Linked DNA regions of Homo sapiens: regions 1, 3, 4, 5 and 6 are each linked to region 2. Evidence: promoter capture Hi-C in 16 types of primary human blood cells and fetal thymus (Javierre and others, 2016). All regions are on one chromosome and are shown on one strand. The core of a region is centred on a gene start or on the middle of the fragment in contact, and the rest is flanking DNA. Distances in the headings are between cores, read along the strand shown.

Region 1 (3,976 bases), core at 623-3,122, 390 kb after region 2:
TTCATGGGTATGGAGTTTCCATTTTGCAAGAATAAAAAGATTCCGTAGATTGGTTGCACAATAATGTGAATATACTTAACACTACTGAACTATGTGTTTAAAAAAAGTTAAGATGGTAAATTTCATATTATATGTATTTTACTATAGTTAAAAATTATTTTTTTTTTCAGACGGACTCTTGCTCTGTCACCCAGGCTGGAGTACATTGGTGCCATCTCAGCTCACTACAACCGCTGCCTCTTGGGTTCATGCGATTCCCCTGCCTCAGCCTCCTGAGCAGGTGAGATCACAGGTACCCACCACCATGCCTGGCTAATGTTTTTGTATTTTTAGTAGAGATGGAGTTTCACTATGTTGGCCAGGCTGGTTTCAAACTCCTAACCTCAAGTGATCTACCCGCCTCAGCCTTCCAAAGTACTAGGATTACAGCATGTCCAGCCAAAACTAATTTTTTTTTTAAATAAAAAAGATCAGTGGCTGTTGTCTGATCATGTGAAGAATGTAAAAGTTTCCATGGGATGGCAGCAGCGTCAACTAAGGCATGAAGACATGACATGGCCCAGTGCCTCAGGGGACCTCTAAGTAGTTCAGCATATCTTAAACAATGGGTGCAGCATGGACAACACAAGAAATAAGGCTAAATACACAGGCAAGAATCAAGAAGCTGAGAATCTTAAATGACACAGCAAGAAGAATAGATTTTATCCTAGATCCAACAGTAAGTCAATAAATTCTTTTAAGCAGGGAGCATAAAAATGCTTAGTTTTGTGCTTTAGAAAAAGAGTCTGGAAGCAAAGCGGCAGACTGTAGACCAGGAGACTATTGCAGTAGAATGGGTGAAAGATGAACAGAGCTTGGACTGAGGCACAGCAATAGGAACAGAAAGTAGGGAACGAATGGGAGTGATATTTAAGACAGAAAATTTACAGCATTTGATGACTATGAATATCTAAAATGACTGATGCTGGGGTTTAGGATGACACCTACATTTCTTGATGTTCCTGGTGGAAGAGTAGGGAGATTGACCATGATGGTAAATACAAAAAGTGAAACATGGGGCCAGGCGCGGTGGCTCACACCTGTAATCCCAGCATTTTGGGAGGCCGAGGCAGGCAGATCACCTGAGGTCAGGAGTTTGATACCAGCCTGGCCAACATGGTGAAACCCTGTCTCTACTAAAAATACAAAAATTAGCCAGGCATGGTGGCAGGCGCCTGTAATCCCAGCTACTCAGGAGGCTGAGGCAGGAGAATTGCTTGAACCCAGGAGGCTGAGACAGTGCCACTGCACTCCAGCCTAGGCAACAGAGTGAGACTCCATTTCAAAAAAAAGAGAAACATAGTTAAACAGAGAGTCAGGTCCAGAAATCTAAAAATATAAATGCTTAAAGAAAAAAGAGATAAGCTAATGAAGAAAGCTGAGAAGATACATTGAGAGAAGTATTAAAAAAAAAAAAAACAAAACAAACAAAAAAAGAAAGTGGTGTCTCAGAAACCAAAAGGAGAATTTAAAGAAGGGAGTCCTCAGTTGTATGAATAAATCTAGAGCATTCGTTAGATTCAGCAATTACAAAGCTATCAGGGGCCCACGATGTGGCATGCAGTGAAGTAGGCCATAGCCTACTGACCGCAGGAGGTTTGAGAAAAGGACAGTAATGAACTAAAGACAGATAATGCAGGCAACTCTTTTAAAGATTCTGGATAGGAAAGGTACAATGAAGATTTTTAAATTTTAAAGATTCTAGGTAGGAAAGGTACAGAGAATACAGGCAACTCTTTTAAAGATTCTGAGTAGGAAAGGTACAATGAAGAAGCTAGCAGGAGATTCAAGATCAAGAGATTTTTCTGTAGCTAATTCTTAGGATTTTTTAACTTTGTTTTTTGTTTGTTTAGGGATAGGAAAGGTGTTATTGAGCAAGTAAAGTTGGGGGAAAGGAGGTAATAAAGACAAAGGGTTGAAAACACAGAAGCACAGAGAGGGAAGAAGTAACTGGTACAGCAAGATCCTGGTTGAGTCCAGCAGACCAAGAACACAGCTGAAGGGGTTAGTCTTAACTAGATAAAGGACACCTCTTTTCCCAAAACTGTATGAGAATTTAAAAGCCAAATGCAGTAGCAGATAGGTTCACCAAGCACAGGGACTTGAAGTGAGCAGATCCCAGCCTCAGTGCCATCTGCTGAGAGAGGGGTAGAAGGTTATAGTTGCTCCAAACAGGGGGCTGGGGCAGCAACAGCAGACATGAGGAAAACTGAGCAGAAGCAGTGGACCTGCCGAGCCAAGGCTCTGAGTGTGGAAAACATACATTTGCAGGAGAGCCAACCTACATGACTGTGTGATTTCTTCATTTTCTCATTCTTTTGATGAATACTTATTAACAACTTATTTATTTATTTATTATTTATTTATTTATTTATTTATTTATTTGAGACAGGGTCTTTTTCTGTCACCCAGGCTGGAGTATGGTGGCATATTCACAGCTCGCTGCAGCCTCGCCCTCCCAGACTCAAGCAATCCTTCCACCTCAGCCATCTAAGTAGCTGGAATCAAGGCATGCACCATCATGCCAAGGTAATTTTTTTCTATCTTTTGTAGAAACAAAGTCTCACTATGTTGCCTAGGCTGGTCTTAAACCGCTGAGCTCAAGCAATCTTCCCTCCTCAGGCCCCCAGAGTGCTGGGATTATGTGAGCCTTAACGCGTTTTATGTGTCACACATTATAGACAGTACTGGGTATACACTAGTGACCAAAACAGTCATGGTCCTGGCCCTCGTGGAGCCTAATCTAGCCACAAAGATAGTCAATCAAATAGACAATAACGGGCCAGGCACGGTGGCTCACGCCTGTAATCTCAGCACTTTGGGAGGCCCAGGCAGGCAGATCACTTGAGGTCAGGAGTTTGAGACCAGCCTGGCCAACATGGAGAAACTCCGTCTCTACTATAAACACAAAACTTAGCTGGGTGTGGTGGCAGGCACCTGTAATCCCAGCTACTCGGGAGGCTGAGACAGGAGAATCACTTGAACCCAGGAGGCAGAAGTTGTGGTGAGCCAAGATTGTGCAACTGCACTCCAGCCTGGGCAACAGGGCGAGACTCCATCTCAAAACAAACAAACAAAAAAAAAACCGAATAGACAATAAGGTAATCACAACCTGTGATGAGACCTATGAGGGCATCCCACTGGGTACAGTGATAGAGAGCTTACTTATAAAAATACTCTACTCACAGTGGGCAGGGACTCTCTGAAGTGGTGACATTTGAGATCCTAAGAATGAAAAGGTCTAAGCAGAAGGAACACTCAGGCATTTTCAGAAGATCTATGGCAGAAAAGACTCTGTTGAGTCCAGTACCTGTAAGAAGCAAGTTCAAGTGGGGCACAGTGGGCAGGGAGAGAGGACCACGATAAGGCAGGAGATATAGGCAGTGGACCAGAACATGGAGGATATTGTGGGCTACAGCAAGGAGGGTGGATTTTATTTTGCCCAGGTGTTGGCGCAAAAAAGCAAATGACTGGATTGGATCTGCCATCGGTGTTTCCCAGACAGGTCAAACAGAAGGAGATAGGACAACTGAAAGAGCCACCAAGAGAATGGCATACCTTGAGGCCTTGTCTACTTTAAGAATGAATACATCCATGCTGCCTTGAAAGAGGCCAAGCCTGGGTGAGGTTCCGGAGCATTAGCAGTAGTGGAAACGAAGTAAATGGCAACTAGAATGGGAAGTTGTCGTGATAGCTATAACTAAGTTTAAGGTCTCAGAAATATGCTTATGAATGGCAGAGTGGTGTATGGGTGTAGGATGCTAACGTCAAAGAAGTCAAGGGATTTTAAGAAAAGCAACAGCTGTGATGGCAGTAGTGGGAATGGAGTATTTATCATTAATAATAATAGTTACCATCTATTTAACATTGTCTGCGTGCCCAATACTGTGCTAAGCACTTCGTATAGATTATCTCACTTTATTTTCAGAACGGTTAC
Region 2 (3,965 bases), core at 1,210-3,709:
GATTATTACATGTTGTCAGATGAGACAATGTGTTAAAAGACACGTGTGTCTATCTTTAGGATTGGGGCTGTGGCATCAAAGTAAGCAAGTATTTTTTCCCCATTCAAAGGAACAGAAGACTTGCCCTGGGTGCCAGGCAAATCCTTGATGTTAAATTCCTGTCCCTGGCAGCAAGGGACCCGCCCTATCCTCTGCCTGACACATTTTGCTTCTTTACTCCCTTTTTGCTTGACACACCTGCCTCTCCCCAATCAAGTAAACATGATTTCTCCTTCTTTCAACCCCAATAGGGTGCTGCTTGGTTCATGTTTTGCCTTTAGTTTTGTGTCTGTTTTTGTCTTTTCCTCATTGTTAGATTTCAGTCCAGCTTGCTTTACATGTGGGGCACTATATTTTGTAGTGTAGAGCTGACATATAGTAGATACTCAATACTCAGTTTGATAAAACTCCTTGGCTTTTTTACCCTTCTCCCTTTCATATTTTAGAACAAAGCTCATAGACCCCTTAGTTGACACTATATTTGCTATAACACAGCCATTAAATTTTCTAGAATTCTTTTTTATTTGTTTTATTCAAATGGCTTCTCATGATTGGGCTTTCCTCTTGCTTGCTCTATCTGCCCACTTTGGAAATTGCTTTGTCAGCTCCACCGACTTTCTAAGCTGGGCCCAATCCCTAAATGGCCACAAGTATAAGGTCGCCTTTGGAGTTGAATAGTCTGAAGAGACATCAGTGCAAATCAAGGGCATAGGCATTGGAATCAGATTATCTTGTCTGGAATTATGCAGTCAAGGCTGTGTGACGTTGAGCACATTACCAAACCTCTCTGGGCTTTTTTTTAACCCAACTGTAAGGTAAAAATAATACCTACCTTATTGTTTGTTCGCTGCCTTGCAAGCCTTTCAAGGAGGTGAGACAGGGATGAAGCCCTTTCTCAGACTCAACATTTTAGTCATCTGCCCTCTAATCCTTTCCTTTTGCTTATTTGTCAAACTTGTACCTCCTTTAGGTGAGGACAAATACTTATATGTTGGCCATTTTATCCTCTCTACTCTATGACTTAGTGTAAAAAATCTCTCTCTCTTAGTCCTTACAATCATGAGACAATGAACTCCATTCTCATGACCATGTTTTAATGGGAGGAGGGTGGTAGAAGGAGGACACTTGCTTCCCTTTTGTGAGGTTTTTAAATTATATATTTATTATAACCTGTTCAAGAGTGGGTGAGAACAGTGTGGATTTTAAAAGGAACATTTCTGTGTCAGCAAAATGTCCCTGTGTTTGGGAGAGACTTTTGGAGGATTTCCAGGGGAAGCAAAGTAGTATTTACTGACAGTCCAAATGCAGTTTGGGCCTCTAACCTCTGGCCTCTCTCAATTTGTTTTGCAGTAAAAAGTCAGAGTACACAGCAAGGGTTCCAAATTAAGAGGAAGCAAAACGCTGCCCAGATCCTGAGAAACCTGGAGAAAATCAACCTTAGTAGTTTCAACTCATACATTGTCTTGTTTGATTTTGTTCTTTGTTTTTTATCCTCTTTAAGCACAGATGCGTGTTGAAGTCTAAGGTGTTCTGTCATCACACTCTCTTTACTAGAATAAGTGTGCCCAGGCAGAAAAAAAAGTGTATTCAATGTTGCTGGCATGTGTGGATTCACAGCTCGTGGCTGTAAGGAAATCTGGGGGTTTCATAAATCCATTAAAATCCTTTTAGAGTTGCCAACCCGCAGTAGGATTTTCTTTCTTTTTTTGTTCTTTTTTTCCCCTTCCAAGTGAGGCACATAAAGGATTCTACCTAGTCCATGAATGAACAGTTTCATAGAAACATTAAAACCCTAACATAACATGAATTATTCACAAAGTTGCATGAAACAATAATATTTAGGTTATCCAAATTATAAGAAGCCTGAAGGTTACCACCAAACTATTAAATTTTTCTAGGCATTAATTACATAACTAAACAAATGTATTTCTTAAAATTCTCTCTTCCTCTACATACACACAGTAACATCAAAAACAACAAGAGCAACTAAACCTCAATGAGTAGCTACAATGCAGAAAGAGTCCATTTCAATTCAAAGAAAAATATTTTCTCCTAAAAAATATGAGAAAACATTCTGTAGGTTCAAATGAATTTAGCCTTGGCTGAGATCACGAGCCACAAAAGTAAGTGGATATGTGACTATAATTATACAATGTTGGAAAATGGTGAGAGGACTTTAAAATATGCATTTCCTGGCCAGATTGTATCAGAAAACTGAACTAACTAGACAATAACACCTTACAAATTTTGAAGTCCAAAATTTTCAACTAAATTCCAGGAATTCAAAGAAAGACTTTTTTCCTTACCTGTCCCTTTGAGAAAGGAGCTCCAATAATCCCTATGGTTCTGGACTTGGCGCTCATGCTCTGACACTTCTCTTTGCTGCACTTGAGCTCTCCAGTCAGTCAACCCTCAGTGACAGAGGGCGCATCTTTTTTTTCCATTTATACTTGGGTTGAATAAACAACCTTTATCTAATGAGGACAGCTGGCTCCACCCACTAAACCAAAGAATGACAGTCAACAGTCTTGCAATTTTTCATACATGGAGTAACTATATGGTTACTCCATGTATGAAGTAACTATATGGGGTTACTTCATACATGGAGTAACCTAACTCTGAGTCTAGGTCTCTAATCAAGTGACAATTATTCATGTTCTCACTTCACACCCTTTTAAAAAGCCAGCCAGATGACATTAACCTGACTTCAACAACTGACAAGTTTCACAACTACAGAAGAAGTCCTATTGTTCTGGCTCAGCGAACTCAGGGCAAGGCCCTTTCCTCCTCCAGATCTCTGAAGACGTCCTTGTAGAAGAAGGGCCGGGCTTGGCAAGATCGTCTGTCACATCCCTTCCAGCCCTAAAATCCTGAGTTGAGATTTCACACATGAGGGTAAATGGTTAATCCATGAGACACATTTCATAAACTTTTAGGGTATAATATAATAAAGAGTATATAACTTCCTTTTTTGATGATTACTTTAAAAAATTAGTTACTTGATTGGTAACCCAGAGAGGTTACCATTTTTGAAGTATGGTGTACAGGAAAATAATTGTAGAATCATATCATAATCAAAGTATAGAAATAAAAATAGCTAACATTGAGTTTTTACCATGTGTCCGATGCAGTTCTGTTTCAAAATACCATATTTATATTTATACCAATTTTATGTGAAGTCTCATCATTGGTGCCATTATACTGATGAATAAACTGAAGCTCAGACCCGTTGCCAACATAGGCTGTAGAAGAAAAGTCGGGATTTAGTCTCTGCCATTCTGAATCCACTTAACCGTCGAGCTTATAGTCTAAATGCTGGGAAGGTGTCAACCTCTATGCCCCTGAGCTACCATTTGTCACCATACAAAAGTATGAATTTAAAATAAAGGCACCTTAAAGATCCTTCCGACTTTAAAATTATGTAATTGTAATTTAAAGGGAAAATTCACTTAGTAGAAACTAATTTCTTTTTCCTATTGGTGGGAAAGAACATTTTGGAATTTAAATTCCATGAGGTCAGAGAATTTTGTCTGCTGTATCCCCAGGGCCTAGAAGAGTGTTGGTGTATAATAGGCACTCAATAAATATTTATTGAATGGATAAATGAGGAAACCAAAGTCTCATGGGTCCATTTTGATAGGACTGTTTTCCAAATAGGTTTCCTACCTTTTTCTTGTGGGTTTGCTTGTATATCCTAAATATTTACTTGTGGTATTCCTCATATTGCCTAGATATTAACCTTATAGCATTGACATTGCAAATAACTTTTCCCAACCTGTCAGAAATCTGATAACTTTTTATATGTTATCACTCAAAATCCTCAATTTTAAAATAGACACTTGTATAATTTCCCCCGAATGCTTTGTGCTTTGGAAGTCTTATTAAATTCCTGCCACCCCATCAAATTGTAGGTATGTAGTTTTACA
Region 3 (4,055 bases), core at 530-3,029, 410 kb after region 2:
CCATTGCTTTGGCCAGTCGCTCATCTTGTTGTATTATTGCATTCTGCAGGATCTTAATTCCTTTTATAATCTAATAACACATACACACATATAAAAAAAATTCCAGTGATTAGGTAAGCAAAATTTCTTTATGGTAAAATGTAAAATCAAGAAGAAAAATAAGCAACAACCAAAATTAGAACAATGTTAAGATTCTTCAACCAAATGAATGCTTAATTGTCTACTTGTTCTCAAACAGATAGTTGACTGGGACAGCTTAAAAGGATGTGTAAGTTTTAAAGCATGATGATTGTCTATCTTAACAGTACTGAACCCAACACCCTTATTTTGCAGATCAGATTGCTATCTGACTGGAAAAACCTCTCAATGGCCCTGCATCTTTTCAGAAATTTGTCCTTGGAATACCCAATATGACTCAATAACTATGATCTTTCCTAAGAATAAGGCTTTATTCTTGCCACAGAAAGGTCAAGCCAGCAGACAACATTCCATTTCTGTTAGAAGCAATAATTATTTGTCTCCAAGTGAATGTGTCTGTGAACCCGTTCCTCATGGCCTTTAAGATTTTTTACGACAGCAATAATTTCAGTAGAAATGACTACTGTCATTTTTCCATACCTGTGGGGAGGGGCATTACCATGAAGAGTTGCAAAGAAGTCCAAATGCACACATTAGAAAAACAGAATCTGCATCCAGGAGAAATCCCCACAGACCTGGTCCACCATCTCCCTTCCTCTCTCAGCACCTGCTCCTCTGAAACAGGGAGAGGAATGATGCATCTTCCCTCCTCCACTTCCAGTTAGATGCAATTCTAGTCAACTTCTAAATGTGAGTACATTTGAAAGTAGTCTGAATACAAAATAGCAAACCCAGAAAAAAAACAACAGAGAAAAGAGAGCACAGAGAAGCCCTAAGGGAACAGAAGACAGAAGCCCTGAGGCAGCACAATAGAAAAAAAGGGAAAGAGTGGGGGCTGACAGTCAATGCAGAATCCATAAAAAAGCAGAGATAAGAAAAAACTGACTCATGAGCATAGCAAACTGTTCTGATACCAAAGTAGCTGTTTTATCCTGAACAATGTTCCCATTATCTGCGGAATGTGATTGTGCAAATCATGAGATGCTGTCCTTGGATCTCACTTCCCATTGACAGACTCTCTCCTTTGACCAAAACTTTAGTCAGGCCCCTCCAAGTCTTCTGCTTGACTAGGCCTAACCATGGGCTTCTCTCTCTGTCCTTGTAGAATTTAGTTTGAGCAAGAATGCTGCTATGTCAGTTTCAAGAAATCCCCCACCCTTGGTGTCTAACCACCCTCCATATCTGAGCTCACCTAAGAAACATTTAGGATTTACTGTACCCCCATCAAAATGTTTTCTTCTTTTCTTTTTAAACTAACATGCAATTGAAAGTTAATGGAAACACATATTTTCATATACTTCCAATTAGGATATTTGTATGCAGCCATCCTAATCCACTTTCCAATTCTATTGCTTAAAATATGAAATCAAGATTTTCCACTAATAAAGAATTCCGAACTTCTAAGAATGTGTTTAAAATCAAAGACCAGTGGAATTCTGGATACTTTTTTCTTTAAAACTAGATGCCAACACGTAGAGGCCAAAAGTAGAGCAACTCATTGTGAATGTGCTAGCTTCCAAAAGCTTGTTTGCAGGTCACTTAATTGGAACTTGGAATACAGTCTTCCATTGAAACAATGTTATAAATGCTAATTCTTTTCCCAAGCCTTCCCACAAAAGCTCATAAGTAGTTTAAAAAGAAAATTAACATTAGACACTTTAAAACAAACAAACAAAAATGTGCTCATGTAGAAGATACAAAATATAACTCCTAATCTTGCCTGACTACATCTCTTCCCCATATTTGTATGTAAGCTTTCTAAGTGATTAACTACAAATAAGTCTCTTGAAAAGGAAACATTACATTATTTGGTTTCAAGGTCACTTGAAACCTGCATTTCCCTCTATTATAAGTTACCCTACCTCCTCCAAAACCAGTAACTGCTGTTGAACCTGTATTATGAAACCACCATTACACTGTATTTATTATTTTTAAGTATTCTGGTTATAACTTGGAATGACAGAAACACGCTTTTGCCATGAAACAGCAGCAGAGAGAGAGAGAGAGCGAGAGCGAAAGAGCGTGTATGTGTGCGCACCTACTCTTGAACAAACACCAGTCTAGGTATGGGCATGCACTAAAAACCTTGTGAGGAAGACAAGTGTCAAGTTGCAAGGATGACAAATGGCATACAGAAAGCTGTGAAAGCCTTTAGCTGACAGGAATGGGGCAAGGAAAGGGATAGTTGACCTAGACGAGGTGGTCATGGGTAGAGAGGTTTGAGCTGAGATTCCGGCATTAACAAAACCAAGAGGAGCAAAGAGAAAGCTCCAGCCAGAGAAGGCTTTTCCTGGGGCCAAGGGAACCTGGCAAGCCCAAGGAAGGGTAGAAGAGCTCGGGCAGAAAAAGCAAGGGCTGAAGGAGAGACGAACAACGACAAAACCTCAGAGAACATGGAAAAGAGGTTGTCTTTATCCTATCGATGGGAAAATCCTGAAGTATATAAGCAGGTTGGTGACACGGCTATATTCGGGTTTAAAAAATAGTCATCTAAAGGAGGTATTATCACCCACCTCATTTTACACCTGAACAAACTGAAACTTGAAAAATTTAGGTAACCTGACCTGCACATGCAGCGGAGTCTGTGACTCAGCTGGGACTAACAAGTCTGTCAGACCCAAAGCCTGCACTCTTTCCAGCATCTACACAACTTTACAGGGGTAGAGAGGCAGAAACAAAGGCTACAGCAGGTTAAAGGATGAAAACTAAAAGCTGCGGACAGGACTCTCATCCCCTTTCTCCCTTCACCTTTGTGATGCAAAGCCTAGAAGTTAGTGGTGAAAGGAAAGAATTTTTTTCTCTTCCTTCCTCTCAATCCCCTTCCCCACCTTCCCTATCCCATCAGCACATCATCCCATCAGTCTTCTCCGGAAGGGGTAAGAAGCCATAACACAGCTAGGAGGGGAGAGAGGGCAGACATGGGGGTGATGCAGAGATGCTGCTCAGTCTCCCCTAGGAGTAAGGAATACAGGTGAAGGGAGAAGCAGAAAATGAGCGGCCTAGGGAAAGTGACACCCAGAGGTGTTCATCGAACATCTGTCAAATCAAAATACAGAACCTGGATTCTCTTCCAATCACAAATCATGTGTCCATAGGGAAGTCACTTCAACTGTCTGACATTCAGTGTCCTTAGGACCTGGCTTCTGTCTGGCTGCTCATGAAAGCAGCAGCACCTTTCACTCCCTGAGCTCTTCTAATCCCCACAGGTATACGTGATCCTAAATTTCAAACCAAACTTGCAAGTATTTTAATAAAATGTATAATTGCTGATTACACTAACTTTGTATTGCCTAAACACTTTTAATGACTATTGCACTAGGACCTTTAATTTTTTTTTTTTTTTTTTTTTTTTTTTTTTTTTTTTTTTTGAGATACAGTCTGGCTCTGTCACCCAGGCTGGAGTGCAGTGGCACAACCTTGGCTCACTGCAACCTCTGCCTCCTGGACTCAAGCAATCCTCCCACCTCAGCCTCCCAAGTAGCTAGGACCACAGGTGTGAGCCACCATGCCCAGCTAGTTTTTGTATATTTAGTAAAGATGGGGTTTTGCCATGTTGCCCAGGCTGGTCTCAAACTCCTGGGCTCGAGGGATCCATCCACCTCAGCTTCCCAAAGTGCTGGGATTACAGGCATGAGCCACCACACCTGGCCCTTATTAGGACTTTTAAAAAGTATTCCTCAACCAAAGGAATCAAATATGTATCAGTAAAATCAGAATATGATTCTTCAGTACATCAAATCTAAAATCTTATATGGCTAGGTAACTCTTCTCTTGTTATGTATATCTTCTCCCCAGCTAAACTGTGTCTCACAGACTAGATATTTCCTAGAATGACCCAAAATAATTTATTTTTTCTTTTGATATTTCTTTCATTTTAATTTTGATTTGATTTTTAACAATTTGTTAGCATTCCCTAG
Region 4 (3,944 bases), core at 519-3,018, 440 kb after region 2:
AGACGGGGTTTCACTATGTTAGCCAAGATGGTCTCGATCTCCTGACCTCATGATCCGCCCGCCTCGGCCTCCCAAAGTGCTGGGATTACAGTTGTGACCCACCGCGCCTGGCCGAATTTATCTATTTAATTGATTTTCAATATTAACTGGTTCTGTCAATAACCAAACATCCTATAGGGATTTTTAAGATTTTTAAGCCTCTATGTCAGTTTGCCGATTATCTCTAACCTTAACTCATTCTCAGCACCATTTAGCAGTTATTAAATAGAGTTTGTTTCCCACATCAGTACATTGAACTGTCCTACTGCTGTCACAGGGGACCGCAGCTATGGTCAAGATCAGTAGGAACTGTCAGTGACCTCCTTTGGGGAACAGTCCCTGACCCCACCCTTCTACTTGGGTTAGGTACTCCACCTGAGGGCTTTAATACTCCTTGTGCCCGCTCTGACCATCCCTTTTGCCACATTTTTCTGTTTCATACATTAGACTTTACGCCACTAGAAGGCAAAGACTATGTTTTAAAGTCTTCGTATTCCCAAATGCATAGAGATTTCTCAATGAATAGACATTCAATGAATGAATAAAACTTTTATAAGCATCCAGATCCATTAAGTACTCAGATTTGTCAAAAAATAAAGCAGCACTCCCAGATAAATTTCAAAAAAAAAAAAAAAAAGAAAGAAAGAGAAACAATATCACGGGTAATCTTAATGTCCTACAGTTTTGTTGGCAAACAGCCTGTTGCGTGGCAAGAGTGGCGCCATCTTGAAGCAAAACCTCCATGAAGAGCAATGTCTGGCTCCTGCATGCAAAGGTGTTCTGCAGCAAGGTTTTTAAACCAAGCATCTAGCATAGACAACCCCTCATAAAGATGCTTATCTGACCTCCCCAGTGGTCATAAGTTTGAGATGGGACCAACTGCCCAAGTCTTAGAATACTTTCTGGAGGGTGGATGCGAGGATGTGTAATCTCATGGCCTCTGGAGAGTCACTTTGGTTCATAAGACCCTGTTAAATATTTCTTTCTGAAAAACTGGATTTGTCAGTCACTTTCTTCAGCCTCTCAGCTCCCACAACCCTTCAGGATAGGTTTGCATATACCTGCTCACGCCTGAACAAGCTTCTCCAGCTTAAGGCTAAAAATTAGCCAACATTAACTTTAACATCTAAATGTTTTTTCTTTTTTAAAAATTTTTTAATTTCTATTTTTTTCTTTTTTTCCCTGCAAAGCCAACTGCAAGTATAACATTAACATCTAAATCTTAATAGCTAAATGAACCTACCAACTCATGCCAAGACGCCAGTCCTTTGTGAAATTCCTCCAAAATACTTTTGGGTTTCCAAGTGGTGTCTGGCAAAACTAATCTAATGAATCATTCTAAGCTACCACCTGTTCCCAGCCCTTGCTTCACTGAGTTCCATTTGTCCAATCTTGACTCCGGAAAGTCCTCTGCCCTCGCGCACATCAGCTGCCTGCTAATTCACCTGGCCACAGTGGATTCTCCCAGTCTTCATGGTGACATCTCTTGCAAATGAAAAGAACAAGGTCAGCTGGGCACAGTGGCTCACGCTTGTAATCCCAGCACTTTGGAAGGCCGAAGCGGGTGGACAACCTGAGGTCAGGAGTTTGATACCAGCCTGACCAACATGGCAAAACCCTGTCTCTACTAACAATACAAAATTAGCCAGGCGTGGCGGCACATGCCTGTAATTCCAGCTACTCAGGAGGCTGGAGCAGAGAATCGCTCGAACTCAGGAGGCAGAGGTTGCAGAGGTGCAGTGAGCCAAGATTGTGCCTGGGCAACAAGAGTGAAACTCCATCTCAAAAAAAGAGAAAAGAACAACTTCTCCCTACACATTACACTCTGCTAAGAGTAGAGCAGGTTGAGCTGCATCACAGAAGATTTTTGGGACCTATAAGAATTACAGAATTCCTTGAGATACAGCAAGTTTCTTTACAGACACTGCCCCATTTCCCCCAGAGGGCAAGGTACAATGATTGCTGAAATAATTGGATGGGAAGTGTTCAGGTTCAGATTGCCACACTGTTCCTGAAACATGACCCATTTCTGACTTTCAGGAACTACTACTAAATTGACTCATTCACCCTGCCCGACTCCTTTCTTTATGGTGAGTTCTCTCTTCAGGTCCCTCATTTCTCTTCTGTGATACGGTCCTGACCTAGTGAATTTCTACCAAAACAATTGACTCTGTTTTAATTCTTGCCCTAGGATGTTCCTTGGTCCCCATAGAAACTAAAGTTGCAAATGGTTACAAAAAAGGATGACATCATGCAGTTCTACAAGACACGGCCAAATATCAGTACAAAGCTAACTGGGACCCTTGGTGACCCAAGGTAACTCGGGGTGACATTTCATTTTGCTGGAAGAAGAATATGTGTTTAACATGTAAGCTTTTCAATTAATGTTTGAGTATAATATTTTTAAGAAAGCACTACACCTATTTAATAATAGACTTATTTCAGTAGTCAGACACAGTTGAAGGGCCTGATAATATTTAATAACAGAATGCAACATTTTAAATTATTTTAAATATTTCTAACTACAAATCTAAAATTTTATGTAAGTAACATGTTGTTTTATGATATTTTTAAATTCAGAAAAACTTATGGAATAAAATGTAAAATTATCTATAATTGTATCTTTTTAGACATAGATATACATACACATATAAACACATACTCCTGCAGCATATATTTTATAAAAATGAAATCATGTCACATTATGGCATCATAAGCTACTTTTGTCTTTTACAAGATATTGTGACTAATTTCTCATGTCATTAAGCATTCTTCTATATTTTATATTATTCTTTCAATCATGCATTTTTTTTTTTTTTTGACAGAGTCTTGCTCTGTCACCCAGGCTAGAGTGCAGTGGCATGATCTTGGCTCACTGCAACTTCCGCCTCTCGGGTTCAAGCAATTCTCCTGCCTCAGCCTCCCTGGTAGCTGGGACTACAGTCACCTGACACCACACCTGGCTAATTTTTGTATTTTTAGTAGAGACCAAATTTCACCATGTTGGCTAGGCTGGTCCCGAACTCCTGACCTCAAGTGATCCACCCACCTCGGCCTCCCAAAGTGCTGGGATTACAGGCGTGAGCCACCGCACCCAGCTCAATCATGCATATTATATCCTTATATAAATATATCATAATGTATTTGACCAATTGCCAATGTCATTGTTCAACCTCATTTAAATTCATCTCAGTTTTTCTGTGTTAAAAATAATTCTATGATAAGTACATTTTTCTGTAATTAGTTTAAATTTTTTAATTATTTCCTTTTTTTTTTTTTTTTGAGATGGAGTTTCACTCTTTTTGCCCAGGTTGGAGTGCAATGGCATGATCTCAGCTCACTGCAACCTCCATCTCCTGGGTTCAAATGAGTCTCCTGCCTCAGCTTCCTGAGTAGCTGGGATTACAGGCACACGCCACCACGCCTGGCTAATTTTGTATTCTTAGTAGAGATGGGGTTTCGCCATGTTAGCCAGGCTGATCTCAAACTTCTGACCTCAGGGGATCCGCCTGCCTTGGCCTCCCAAAGCTCTGGGATTTACAGATGTGAGCCACCACACCCAGCCTTAAATTATTTATTTAAAATAAATTCCCAGAAGGAGGTGTGATAGGTAATAGATTCTAAATTATTACAAGCCTTTTGAAATGTGTTGCCAAATTATCCACCAAAAACTTCATGCAAATCTATATGCTTATAAGCAGTTCATGAAAGTTTATTATCCATCCCACTAACCCTCATTTTCTATTTACAATGTTCAAATGGCTGTTATTTTACCTCTTATTTCTTTTATTATTAATAAATCTGCATATTATTTCATGTGTTTCGTAACCACTTGCACACCTCTCTTTATAAAAAGCTTCTGCTTATTTTTCTTCTAAATCGTTTACCTTTTTCTACTACTTTAT
Region 5 (3,657 bases), core at 380-2,879, 370 kb after region 2:
TTATTTAAGCCTGCAGGTCTTAAGTATATTCCTCTGCAGATCATCTGTATCAGAACCATATATGGCATTTACTGAACATCAAAAGCTTAGGTCCTAGGTCCATCTCTAAATCTAAGGGTAGAGGGTGGAAATCTGAAGCTTCAACCAGTACGCCGGCTGACTTGCGAATCCCCATATCTAAGATCTACTTCCTTAAACTTTCAGGAACACTGACCACTATAATAGTGATAGGAATAGACTCATTCCATAAATTAAAATAAAAAATTCTTATTTGGCTTACTGAAAATGATAATATCATAATTTGTTTTCTTTATTTTATTTTATTTTATTATTATTATACTTTAAGTTTTAGGGTACATGTGCACAATGTGCAGGTTAGTTACATATGTATACATGTGCCATGCTGGTGTGCTGCACCCATTAACTCGTCATTTAGCGTTAGGTATATCTCCTAAAGCTATCCCTCCCCCCTCCCCCATCCCACAACAGTCCCCAGCGTGTGATGTTCCCCTTCCTGTGTCCACGTGTTCTCATTGTTCAATTCCCACCTAGGAGTGAGAACCTGCAGTGTTTGGTTTTTTGTCCTTGCGATAGTTTACTGAGAATGATGATTTCCAATTTCATCCATGTCCCTACAAAGGACATGAACTTATCATTTTTTATGGCTGCATAGTATTCCATGGTGTATATGTGCCACATTTTCTTAATCCAGTCTATCATTGTTGGACATTTGGGTTGGTTCCAAGTCTTTGCTATTGTGAATAGTGCCGCAATAAACATATGTGTGCACGTGTCTTTATAGCAGCATGATTTATAGTCCTTTGGGTATATACCCAGTAATGGGATGGCTGGGTCAAATGGTATTTCTAGTTCTAGATCCCTGAGGAATGGCCACACTGACTTCCACAATGGTTGAACTAGTTTACAGTCCCACCAACAGTGTAAAAGTGTTCCTATTTCTCCACATCCTCTCCAGCACCTGTTGTTTCCTGACTTTTTAATGACTGCCATTCTAACTGGTGTGAGATGTATCTCATTGTGGTTTTGATTTGCATTTCTCTGATGGCCAGTGATGGTGACCATTTTTTCATGTGTTTTTTGGCTGCATAAATGTCTTCTTTTGAGAAGTGCCTGTTCATGTCCTTCACCCACTTTTTGATAGGGTTGTTTGTTGATAACGCTGCATATCTACAACTATCTGATCTTTGACAAACCTGAGAAAAACAAGCAATGGGGAAACGATTCCCTATTTAATAAATGGTGCTGGGAAAACTGGCTAGCCATATGTAGAAAGCTGAAACTGGATCCCTTCCTTACACCTTATACAAAAATTAATTCAAGATGGATTAAAGACTTAAACATTAGACCTAAAACCATAAAAGCCCTAGAAGAAAACCTAGGCATTACCATTCAGGACATAGGCATGGGCAAGGACTTCATGTCTAAAACACCAAAAGCAATGGCAACAAAAGCCAAAATTGACAAATGGGATCTAATTAAACTAAAGAGCTTCTGCACAGCAAAAGAAACTACCATCAGAGTGAACAGGCAACCTACAAAATAGGAGAAAATTTTCACAACCTACTCATCTGACAAAGGGCTAATATGCAGAATCTACAAGGAACTCAAACAAATTTACAAGAAAAAAACAATCATAATTTGTTTTCTAAATATTAAGCATTCTAATCTAAATAAAATGCAATCTGATTTAGATTTTATGTACCATTCAAGCAGTGACTGTTTCTATTTTGATCACCACTCTGTGCCCAGCACCCAGTGTCTGGCACATAGTAGGCACTCAATACATATTTACTTAATTAATATGATTTGGAACAGGGAGCTCCTTACACGTAGAAATGACTCTGCGTGAACTGGAGCTGGCCAGTGGGAGGGAAGAATGTGAGACAGAATGAGATGGGATGGGTTTCTCAGGTGCAGAGACAGTGCTCTGTAACTGATAAGACTGTGATCTCAGTTACATCACAACCATTCCAAGTCTCATATTACTTTTCTATAGGGTAAGATTGATTCTGTGAAATTAACTGCCAATAAATCATTTAAATGCAGTTTGAAATGTTGACATATATAGTTTAAGCATTTTTTTAAATAAATGTCCTTGGGTGCTCTCATTTCAAAGTTAATATTATAAAGACAAAGAAACATTTTGAAACGGAGATATTACCTTCACCACTGATTGTCATTCTGTGATTAAGTTTGAAACCACTTGGAAGAGGACAATCCATTTGAAAGCAAAACAAGAAAGATAACCAGTAAAGAATCAAACTGTCAGTCTACAAGTTTTGTAAATTGTTGTCATCCCATATTTCAAAATCTATCATTTACACCAATTATTTTTACCTAACATACCTAATATGATACTGGAATGATACCTAATATGGATATTACTAAATTTGTGGCAATGTAATCCAAAAAACCATGCAAGATATCTTTCTGAGATTTTCAGCAATAGTTTGTAGAAAACTCTTAACTATAGGATGGTGAGTCACCCAAACCCATGATTTAAAGGGCCCAAAAGACTTTTCTGAGGACAGAGACATTAAATACAAAATGTGGCAAATTTAGAAAAAAAAAATTCTACTTACTACTACACATGGCCTTCATTTCTAGAGCTGCAAATCAGTCTTAACTGCAGCAAAGGGTCATGGAGAGCAGGGAGCGGATATTAATCTGCATGCCCATCTCCAAAACTCTGGTATATGAGAGCAGGCCATCAGATGTCTGAATTTGCATGAGGAACCCCCTAGGCTGAAATAGGAAACAAAATGAAGGGTGGCCTTAGGATTTTAGGAGAAATGCTCATGAACCTAGACGGAAGTCAAAAGTTGCTCCGACTTCTGCGGGAAGAAGGGGTGGCCTATAAAGGCAGTAAGTCACCCTGAGACAGGGGAAGTCAAAAGACTTGTCACTTGGATTGTGCCACTGGGTTGACCATCCTTAGGGAGAAGTACTTTAAAGTACCTCCAGGAAAGGGGGTCCCTCAGTTACCCTCATGCCCAGTCCCCGGTATACCTGGTTCCAAGGCCTTAATTGAGGCAACTGCTGAAAGATGGTCTTTTGGAAACCTTGAAGAGCGACAGGAAGAGGGGTAAAAAAAGCTTACCCAGTTGCGGTGAGCAGCACCAGCGTAACAGGCCAGCAGAGGAAGCTTTGAGAGCAACAGGATGCAAATAACCACAAGCAAGAATAGCAGCAAAAGTGAACTCTGGCACCACCTCGAGGCTCTTCAGGGGATGAAGCAGGTGAGGCAACAGTGGTAGAAATAAATGATGGCCAGACTATGCAAGAACAGCCATCGTGGCAAAGGCAGGCAAAGCTGAAATAGCCTCCATGGAAGGCCAGGAGCATCCTCAGCACCCCTGGGAATTGGAACCAACCTGACTTGGAAACCCAGAAGCAAGAGTAGTGTCAGAGACCACAGCAATGTCACTCGTGCTCCAGACCATGCTTATGGCTGGTGTGGCCTGGTAAAACAGGCTTGCAATAAGAACATGCACTCACATTCTTACGGAGCCACGGTGATTTTGACAACTTCATGAAGGTCAAATGAGGTTTAAAACTTCTGCTCTCTCCTACCAGGATGCCTTTTTCTTGAAATGTCCTATTTGCAGTCTCTGAAGAAAATAAAGAGAAACAAAG
Region 6 (3,656 bases), core at 1,055-3,554, 350 kb after region 2:
CAACTGGAAACTTTACAAACGTAGCATATATACTAACTGATTTTTTTTTTAAGATGTCTTAAATGGTATAACAGAGATGGCTGAAGAGATAATCAGTGACTTGTAATCTAGCACTCTCCAAGAATGTACCATTAACAAAGATAGGAAATATGCAAATCTAATGAGGGCTAAATTATCTCCCCAGAAAAATTCACACATGTACCTACATACAAAGTTTTATGAACAATATCAGGAAGTTCTCAGTGTCCCTGAGGCCCAATTTCTATCCTAGAACTCTGAATAATATCTTAAGATCAGAAATCTGTCCCACGGTATTAATGTATACCATAAAATGTTGGCTCAAGCCTCAAGAAATTGACATTAAATTTGAGTTAGGATCAAATCAAAGAGAAGCCAAACCAAGGTAGGCCAATTAAATCTGATTAAGAAATAAAACAAAGTATCCCAAATCTAATATTGTTATAAAATATAGGTAAGATTGATAAAATCAATAATATCTATAAGCAAATGAACTCTAGTGTACATTAAACTTGGTTAATTATAACAATAAATTATCACTTTAGATGCACATATGATTTTAAAGTTTATATTGTCATCGCCAAATGTGACCCACGAAAGCATTTGTAATAAGCAAAAATCATTTTTTAAAACAATGTGAAATGATTGGCTTGGGGATACAAGATTGGCAGCGTTTGAAAAAGGCAAAATTGTTTTGAATTAGAAAGTGTAACAGCAATAAAGAAGCTTGATGGAAAGATCTGGAGAAACTACCTCACATAAGGGGAAATTTAAAGACTATAAACTGAAAAAGAGCAATGAAAGCGAAATCTCAGTGGCTTGAACACAGTGATGGGGGGTGGTAGGCTGAATAGAACTGTCCAGTGTCAATTTAGGTAATCTATGATATAAGCTTCATAATGCCAGTCCTGTAATATTTTCAGCAATATCAACATATTCCTAATTTTTTTAACAGGAATGAGAAAGGTAATGAGGCACTGCAATTCTTATAAGGTTGGCCTTGTAAGAGACCTTATAAGGTTGGCAGAGAAGATAGGGGAAGCTGGCCAAAATCTGTCCTACACAAGAAGTATCTAAGTTTTCCATTTACAATGAACCTAAACAGAAATGTTTGGTCCTCATCAAAACTTGGATGGAAGACAGCTCTCTTACAGAGATTCTGAAAAGATGAAAATTCTCCTTAAAATAGACTTGAGATGTTTCAGAATATAAAATTCAAACGACATACTGAATATCTTCTGTTTAAAATAGCTGAAGTCTTTGAAAGGTAAAATGAGGACCTCTGAAGATGTCTAATGAAAATTTGGAAGTAAAATTGTGTCTCTTGAACATTTTTAAATGCTTTAATAAACGTCAGTATTAAGATTCTTTCAGGATGTATACATCCATAGGTGTTCTTCCAGCTGATTTGGAGATAAATTACCTTGGTTAAAGACCTTGCAATATTTAGCTACATATACAGGCATACCTCAGAGGTATTATGGGTTAGTTCCAGACTATTGCAATAAAGCAAACATTGCAATAATGCAAGCCACATGAATTTTTTGGTTTCCTAGTACATATAAAATTATGTTTCATTATATGCAGTCTATTAAATGTGCAATATTATATCTAAAAAATGTAAACATTTTACTTTAAATACACTTTATTGCCAAAAATGCTTACAATCATCTGAGCATTAAGCAAGTCATAATCTTTTTGCTGGTGGAAGGTCTTGTCTGTTGATGTTGATGGTTGCTGACTAATCAGAGTAGTACTTGCTGGAGGTTCGAGTGGTTGTGGCAATTTCTTAAAATAAGACAATAATGAAGTTTGCTGCATCAATCGACTCTTCCTTTCATGAAAGATTTCTCTGTAGCATGGAATGCTGTTTGATAACATTTTACCCACAGTAAAACTTCTTCAAAATTGGAGCTGATTCTCTCAAACCCTTTAAAGCCACTGTTTTATCAATTAAGTTAATGTAGTATTCTAAATCCTTTGTTGTCATTTCAACAATGTTTAAGGATCTTTACCAAGAGTAGATTCCATCTCAAGAAACCACTTATTTTGTTCATTCATAAGAAGCAACTCATTATCCACTAAAGTTTTATCATGAGATTACAGCAATTCAATCCCATCTTCAGGCTTCACTCCTAATTTTAGTTCTCTTGCTATTTCTTTTCTTTTTTCTTTTTTTTTGAGATGAGTGTCACTTTGTCACCCAGGCTGGAGTGCAGTGGTGTGATCTCGGCTCACTGCAAGCTCCGCCTCCTGGATTCACACCATTCTCCTGCCTCAGCCTCCCGAGTAGCTGGGACTACAGGCGCCCGCCACCACGCCCGGCTAGTATTTTTTGCATTTTTAGTAGAGACAGGGTTTCACGGTGTTAGCCAGGATGGTCTCGATCTCCTGACCTTATGATCCGCCCGCCTTGGCCTCCCAAAGTACTGGGATTACAGGCGTGAGCCACCGCGCCTGGCCATTCTCTTGCTGTTTCTATCACATCTGCAGTTACTTCCTCCAATGCAGTCTTGAATCTCTTCTCAAAGTCATCCATGAGGGCTGGAATCAACTTCTTCCAAACTCCTGTTAATGTTGCTATTTTGACTTCCTCCCATGAGTCATAAGTGTTCTTAATGACATCTAGAATGGTGAATCCTTTCCAGAAGGTTTTCAATTTGCTTTGCTCATATCTATCACAATAATCACTATTCATGGCAGCTATAGCCTTACAAAAATATTTCTTAAATAATAAGCCTTGAAAGTCTAAATTACTCCTTGATCCATGAGCTGCAGAATGGACACTGTGTTAGCAAGCATGAAAATAACACTAAACTCCTTGTACATTTCCATCAGAGTTCTTGGGAGACAAGGTGCACTGTCAATGAGCAGTAATCATTTGAAAAGAATTTTTTTTTCTGAGCAGTAGTTAAAATACTCAGTAAACCATGCTATTAACAGATGTGCTGTCATCCATGCTTCGTTGTTCCATTTATAAAGTATAGACAGACTGAATTTAGAATAATTCTTAAGGTCCCTAGGATTTTTGGAATGGACAATGAGCACTGGCTTCAACTTAAAAGTCACCAGCTGCATTAGCCCCTCACAAGAGAGTCGGCCTGTTCTTTGAAACTGTGAAGTCAGACATTGACTTCTCTTCTGTAGCTATGAAACTCCTAGATGCCATCTTCTTCCAATAGAAGGCTGTTTTGTCTACATTGAAAATCTGTTGCTTTGAGCAGCCACCTTCATCAACGACCTTAGCTAGATCTTCTGGATAACTGGCTGCAGCTTCTGTATCAGCACGTTCTGCTTCACCGTGCACTTTTATGTTATGGAGACAGCTTCTCTCCTTAAACCTCATGAACCAGCCTCTGCTGGTTTCCAACTTTTCTTCTGCACCTTGCTCACCTTTCTTACCTTTCACAGAACTGAAGAGAGTTGGGGCCTCGCACTGGATCAGGCTTTGGCTTAAGGGAATGTTGCAGTTGGTTTGATCTTCTATCTAGACCACTAAAACTTTTTCCATATCAGCAATAAGGCTAATTCACTTTCTTTTGATTTGTGTGTTCACTGGAATAGCACTTTTAATTTCCTTTAAGAACTTTTCCTTGGCATTCACAACTTGGCTAACTGGTACAAGAAGCCTAGCTTTC

What was found. Contacts are between HindIII fragments. The CHiCAGO score rates a contact against its expected background, and 5 or more counts as called.
Region 1: a fragment that was not itself captured here is called in contact with the fragment with the promoter of ARG1 in region 2 in 4 of 17 cell types (naive CD4 T cells, naive CD8 T cells, non-activated CD4 T cells and 1 more); the score reaches 7.7 in naive CD4 T cells.
Region 3: a fragment that was not itself captured here is called in contact with the fragment with the promoter of ARG1 in region 2 in 12 of 17 cell types (naive CD8 T cells, naive CD4 T cells, non-activated CD4 T cells and 9 more); the score reaches 12.6 in naive CD8 T cells.
Region 4: a fragment that was not itself captured here is called in contact with the fragment with the promoter of ARG1 in region 2 in 8 of 17 cell types (total CD8 T cells, non-activated CD4 T cells, fetal thymus and 5 more); the score reaches 10.3 in total CD8 T cells.
Region 5: a contact is called between a fragment that was not itself captured here and the fragment with the promoter of ARG1 in region 2, in 5 of 17 cell types (naive CD4 T cells, megakaryocytes, activated CD4 T cells and 2 more). The highest score is 7.4, in naive CD4 T cells.
Region 6: a contact is called between a fragment that was not itself captured here and the fragment with the promoter of ARG1 in region 2, in 1 of 17 cell types (total CD8 T cells). The highest score is 5.0, in total CD8 T cells.

Annotation. Positions count from the first base shown.
Region 1 is chr6:131,178,317-131,182,292 of GRCh38, reverse strand. The region is part of intron 5 of AKAP7 (A-kinase anchoring protein 7); the gene reads right to left. Among named protein-coding and RNA genes, the nearest start is that of AKAP7, 45 kb to the right of the region's middle. The HindIII fragment of the contact is 7,868 bases long and covers 1-3,976 here.
Region 2 is chr6:131,571,720-131,575,684 of GRCh38, reverse strand. ARG1 (arginase 1) reads right to left here and starts at 2,459. Exons shown (of 8, transcript NM_000045.4): 1 at 2,346-2,459. The coding sequence starts at 2,402. It also overlaps a transcript of MED23 not described here. RefSeq lists an enhancer at 2,492-2,993. The HindIII fragment of the contact is 9,894 bases long and covers 1-3,965 here.
Region 3 is chr6:131,161,096-131,165,150 of GRCh38, reverse strand. It overlaps AKAP7 (A-kinase anchoring protein 7), which reads right to left. Exons shown (of 8, transcript NM_016377.4): 4 at 1-70. Among named protein-coding and RNA genes, the nearest start is that of AKAP7, 28 kb to the right of the region's middle. RefSeq lists a silencer at 915-1,115. The HindIII fragment of the contact is 231 bases long and covers 1,664-1,894 here.
Region 4 is chr6:131,128,200-131,132,143 of GRCh38, reverse strand. LOC102723445 (a long non-coding RNA gene) reads left to right here and starts at 1,783. Exons shown (of 4, transcript XR_428022.3): 1 at 1,783-2,129; 2 at 2,231-2,407. It also overlaps a transcript of AKAP7 not described here. The HindIII fragment of the contact is 1,293 bases long and covers 1,122-2,414 here.
Region 5 is chr6:131,199,436-131,203,092 of GRCh38, reverse strand. It overlaps AKAP7 (A-kinase anchoring protein 7), which reads right to left. Exons shown (of 8, transcript NM_016377.4): 6 at 3,520-3,632. Among named protein-coding and RNA genes, the nearest start is that of AKAP7, 66 kb to the right of the region's middle. RefSeq lists enhancers at 2,954-3,053, 3,104-3,153. The HindIII fragment of the contact is 2,978 bases long and covers 141-3,118 here.
Region 6 is chr6:131,221,069-131,224,724 of GRCh38, reverse strand. All of the region lies in intron 7 of AKAP7 (A-kinase anchoring protein 7), which reads right to left. Among named protein-coding and RNA genes, the nearest start is that of AKAP7, 87 kb to the right of the region's middle. The HindIII fragment of the contact is 2,783 bases long and covers 913-3,656 here.